2 separate regions of the Homo sapiens genome follow, and region 2 is linked to region 1. Evidence: promoter capture Hi-C in human tissues and cell types (Jung and others, 2019). All regions are on one chromosome and are shown on one strand. Each heading gives the region's core, a stretch centred on a gene start or on the middle of the fragment in contact. The rest is flanking DNA. Distances are from core to core; before and after follow the strand shown.

Evidence for each region. Contacts are between HindIII fragments. The study calls those that stand out against the background at their distance.
Region 2: a fragment that was not itself captured here is called in contact with the fragment with the promoter of ARHGAP12 in region 1 in 1 of the 25 tissues and cell types used here (lymphoblastoid cells).

What each region holds. Positions count from the first base shown.
Region 1 is chr10:31,927,511-31,930,210 of GRCh38, forward strand. It overlaps ARHGAP12 (Rho GTPase activating protein 12), which reads right to left and starts at 1,321. Exons shown (of 20, transcript NM_018287.7): 1 at 1,173-1,321. It overlaps LOC107984219 (a long non-coding RNA gene), which reads left to right. Exons shown (of 3, transcript XR_001747415.2): 1 at 1-533; 2 at 1,152-1,312. RefSeq lists a silencer at 993-1,492. The HindIII fragment of the contact is 14,818 bases long and covers 1-2,700 here.
Region 2 is chr10:32,323,980-32,326,679 of GRCh38, forward strand. The region is part of intron 1 of EPC1 (enhancer of polycomb 1); the gene reads right to left. Among named protein-coding and RNA genes, the nearest start is that of EPC1, 22 kb to the right of the region's middle. The HindIII fragment of the contact is 3,077 bases long and covers 1-2,700 here.

The DNA.
Region 1 (2,700 bases), core at 71-2,570:
CACCTCCCTTTAGGAACGCATGCCTAAATAGTCGATAAAATCTACTTCTCAATGTCATGATTAACCCAAAAGCCAGCCACAACCAATCGTGTTATTAGAGTGCTAAAAGCCTCTATCCACAACAAACACTCCACTTGGGATGACATTAAAACTTTCGATAAAGGTGTACTTTCAACGTCGTGCTTTAGCCTTTGAAAATACATTTACAAAACTGCAGCTGCAGTCAAAAGGAAAACATCACACGCCTCGAAAGCTGAAGGGCGTGCCTTTTTCTCTAACGAAGACCGTGTGGCCATTTCTTCTCAAAGGGTCTGCAGTCACTTAAGATAGCAACGCGTAAAGGACAGCCGTTCTGAGAAGACAACCAGCTCCCCTGAGATGGGAGGCGGGCTGCACGCTGGTAAAGAGGATTTTTCAATTCAAGGACTTTGAGGAGATTCCGCCCAGATAAGCTGGAGGGGAGCGAATGCACGTCCATCCAGCAGGGGCAGGGCACCGGGAAAGACCGCAAAGAAGAAAGTGTCCGGTTTAAGGTCAACAGTCCTCGAGGGACGCCCCAGGTGGATTCCCCGGGTGGGCTCCCCGGGTGGGTGGAGGCCTGCAAGCCCCACCGCGATTAGGGAGTGGGCCCAGGGCGCGGGAGGGGCCGGGCCGGCCTTTTGCGCACACACACACACACACACACACACCCGCCTTTTGCAGACACACGCGCGCGCACACACCCGCCTTTTGCACATAGACACGCACACACCCGCCTTGTGCACACACGCGCGCACTCTCCCGCACTCACACACACACCCGCGCACCCTCACACTCTCCTCCCTGGGGGCGGGGCGGGCGGGCGCTGCCCTCACACAGGAAGTCAGGAAACCCAGGGGGCAGAGAAGCCACAACTTCGGGCCATTTAAACCCTCTCGCCCACGTCAGCCAATAGGCTGCGCCGGCCCCCTCCCCCTCGGCGCCTAACCCCCGCGCCCAGAGCCCCTCGCTGCGCGCCCGACCTCCCTTTGCGCGCACCTCCGCGGCGCCGCCGCCGCCGCCGCCGCGCCTCCCGCACACGCCTCCCCCCGACTCCACCGCCCTCGGCGGGCACAGCCCGGCCCCGGCGCGCCTTTGTGCAGCGCCTCGCCAACCTGCCCTCCGTCCGCCAGGACCCGCGCCCTGCACCTCACCGGGAGCCCGGCGGCCTCGCAGCAGGCGGCTCCCTTCTTAGTCCGCCCCGCGGCTGCGGGTCGACGACGCGAGCCCGAAGAGCGTTCACACGGCTACGGCCGCGGCCGGCCCGTCCCCGCAGGCTGGCCTCTGAGGGAGGGTAAGTTACAGGGCACGTCGGAGCGCGCCGGCGCGGGGGCGGGGCTCACGTGACGCGCGGGGGCGGGGCGGGAGGCTCACGTGATGGCCCGGGCGAGCTGGGCGGGCGCGGGTCTCCGGGACGGTCTGGGGTGGCTAGGGGGTGCGGCGCCCGGCGGGGATCCGAATAGGGGGCAGCCAGCGTACGGTGTGGGAACTCGGGCCGGCGCGGGAGCCTGCGGTCAAGGGGGCTCAGCACTTTGTAAACAAGGAGTGGGAAGCGTTAAAAAAACGCTCGTAGGGAAAACCAGGGAAGGGCGGACATAGCGCCAGGGTGGCAGGAATGGAGCCCGGGCAAAGACGGCCCTGCCGTGGGCCCTAGCGCTCCCTTCGTCGGCCCCTGGAGCTGCGGCCGGGCGTGGGTCAGTCGTTCACGGGCCCGGAAATTCCACTGGGACACCCGAAAAAGTGCTGCACGCCGCCTGAGGGAGACGGAAAGGGACCCGGGGCACTGAGTCCATTGCTGGGGTCGCCAGGGTACGTGGCAGGACCCGCTGTGCACACTCGGGACTGAGGAGACCCCTGGGACGCGGAGAGCCGCTCCAGGGCAGAACCAGTCCGTCAGCATTTAGCCTTCCACGGGCCTGAGGGTGCGAGCCCTGCGGGGGCCACAGGGTCATTGTCCAAAGTCATCCCCGTTTGCACTGTGGCAGCACCGAACCCGGAAGTAACAGCTTTGGCAGGTCTTTGATGGTGATCCAGTGGCAGGAGGAGCTCAGCTGGAATGGGAATCAGGAAAGAGACCTGGCTTCTGCCATTTATTGGCACTTCACCCTTCTGAACCTCAGCTTTCAAATGAGAGCTGGCTTCTAGGTCTAGAATACAGTGAGTGTGAGAAAAATAACTGAGAGGCGTTGGGACTTCAGTAACTACTCATTCCTTAACCAGTTGTTGATTGTGCCTGTTGTGCCAGGATGAAATATTTGTTAATAATAGAGACCAGAAAGGAGAGGGGGGAAAAAACAAGCATATGTATGATTCAAGCAATGAAGAGCTACTCTCCGGAGTTGGCTCTTTCCTGTGCTTCACTTCGTACTTGAAGATGCCACAATGCCTGGCTTCCTTATCAACCAGCTGAACTCCGAATTGTGCCTTACAGGATGCGAAGAATCCGGTAGGGCAGTGGCAAGACTTTAACAGCTGTGGTTTACAACCTTCTTATTAAATTAAGTCTAATGCGAGCTAAAGTGTTAAGATAGTCTCCATTTAGAAAGGAAAGAGGCTTACAATGAGAATTTTTGAAAAATAAGCCTGAGACTGTGCTGTCTCTATCGTTGCATTTGCTTTTCACAGTCCTTGGCACCCACTGCCTTTTTGTCTCCCTCGGTTTCTAACCCGTTCTGTTTTCTT
Region 2 (2,700 bases), core at 131-2,630, 400 kb after region 1:
GGCTGGAGAGCAGTGGCGCGATCTCGGCTCACTGCAAGCTCCGCCTCCTAGGTTCACGTCATTCTCCTGCTTCAGCCTCCCAAGTGGCTGGGACTACAGGCGCCCGCCACCACGCCTGGCTAATTTTTTTGTATTTTTTAGTAAAAACAGGGTTTCACCATGTTAGCCAGGATGGTCTGGACCTCCTAACCTCGTGATCCGCCCACCTCAGCCTCCCAAAGTGCTGGGATTACAGGCGTGAGCCACTGCGCCCGGCCTAGTTATTCTTTAATAAATAAGCTTAATAGTTACTCTAGGCTGGGCATGTGGTTCACGCCTGTAATCCCAGCACTTTGGGAGGCCAAGGCGGGTGGATCGCCTGAGGTCAGGAGTTCCAGACCAGCCTGGCCAACGTAGTGAAACCCGTCTCTGCGTGGTGGCGGGTGCCTATAATCCCAGCTACTCAGGAGGCTGAGGCAGAAGAATCGCTTGAACTCGAGATGCCAGGCTGCAGTGAGCCGAGATTGTGCCACTGCAATCCAGCCTGGGCTACAGAGTGAGACACTCTGTCTCAAAAAAGACAAAAAAAAAAAAAGTTACTCTAATAAATCTTACTCTTATTTACTTAATAAATAAGTAGATAAATTTTTAAAACTTTAGTTCCAAATTTACCTTGTGTTTTCTTAAAAGATATTCTTTCTCCTACTAATCTTAAAAAACAAACAAACAAACAAACAAACAAGAACACATTTTAGCCGGGCGCGGTGGCTCAAGACTGTAATCCCAGCACTTTGGGAGGCCGAGGTCGGCGGATCACGAGGTCAGGAGATTGAGACCATCCTGGCTAACACGGTGAAACCCCGTCTCCACGAAAAATACAAAAAATTAGCTGGGCGTGGTGGCTGGAGCCTGTAGTCCCAGCCACTTGCGAGGCTGAGGCAGGAAAATGGCAAACCTGCAGAACCCAGGTAACTGACGTTGCAGTGAGCAGAGATCCTGCCACTGCTCTCCAGCCAGGGCGACAGAGTGAGACTCTGTCTCAAAAGAAAAATAAATAAATAAAAATAAATAAATAAAACCTTGAATTAATTTTTAGCTGCAGACTGTCACTGTTAACAAAACAAGTGTCAACCTATGAACATAATCAATTCTCACTGTAGAACTTAAGGACGTTTTATGATAAATTCAAGCACTATACTATATTGAGTATAGTCAGAAACTTCAACTTGTACAAGAGAATGAGATCTCTCTACACACTGTAAAACACAAAACAAAATTAAAAAAGAAAAGTGTGTATTACCATCACAGGGAAGCCTTGTTTTTACAGCTTTTCTAATTAATAGCAATAATTCATTTCAAAGATTATTTACAACACATACCTCACCCCACAATGGATATGAGATAACTCACTGGATCATTTTTAAAGCTTAATGCTATGTTAAATAAATCTGGTTTCTTCTTTCCTATGGAAACAAGAGAAAATTCCTAACAACTTTAATTTCCACAGGAAGGGGCTAATGGTTGCAAAACGTGACATAAAAGAAGGAAAATTTTATCTTTTCTTGTAAAGGTTCTGAGGCTAATATAAACATCACACAAATTCCCTTATTTCAGAGTGGAAGGAGATAAAATACATCAAGTAAAGTTTCCAGATAATATTTAAGATGTTCCCTACAAAAATATTAAGTAAACCATACTAAAAGTTTGTATCATGCATTAAATTTGGTTAGAATGAAAGGCTGATTCTTCCAAATGTAGGCAAAAAAAGAGTAATCACAATCTCATTTCAAAGAAGCAAACTGTGGCAGACACTGCCGGTTTTTTGGTGTTTTTTTTTTAACTCTATAAAGGCAAATTAACTTTTTCCAGTGATAAATGGTAGCAGAGGACTGGTGTTACAACACTTGTACTTAATTAGGAATTTATTTCAGTCTGACAATATCAACTACAGTATGCCTTCCAGTAAGTAAATGAGGTCTTTATGTTAAAGTCTGACCAAATCATGGTTAGAATGCAAAACTTACTTTTTAATAGTAGGAAGAAGGATAAAGACCTTAAACTCAGGACAGATGAAACATGGCTTGATGAATTTATACCTCTTATCTGTCTTCTCAAAGATCTCCAAAAAACAAAAGTACAGTTAACACACTGCAAGGAGTTGTAGGACAGAACCTACAATATCCCTACTTCCTTATCCTTCCTCTTCCAATACACAAAAACGAATACTGAAAGGGTTAAGTCTTTAGAGTTGTTCATCAAAATTTCTGGTATGATTGTACTTTCTGGCTGTCGTGTGGCTGGGAGGGGTTAGGTGCCTAATTCTGGCCAATTGTAAGTCAAAGTGACCTATATGACTTCTGAACCATGGCATTTAACTGTCAGTGAAAGATGTGAAATCTTTCAATGCACTCTTCCACCTGTCGCCAGGCTTGAGATGTTTACTGCTGTATCACCCTGGTTCCCCTGCTGATCCAGGACAATGATCCAAAATGTGACAAGAATAAGAAAAAAAACTTTGCGTATTTTATGCCACTAAGATTTTGAGGTTCTTGGTTATCACAGCATATCCTAGTCCATCCTAACAAATATAAATTGGTACCTGGAGATAGGGTACTATTATAACAAAAAAAACTAAAATATATGCCACTGGCTTGAAGGCCAGGCAGCAAGGAAACTTCTCAGAGGCTAGAAGGATGGCAATCCTTAACAAGCAGTACAAAA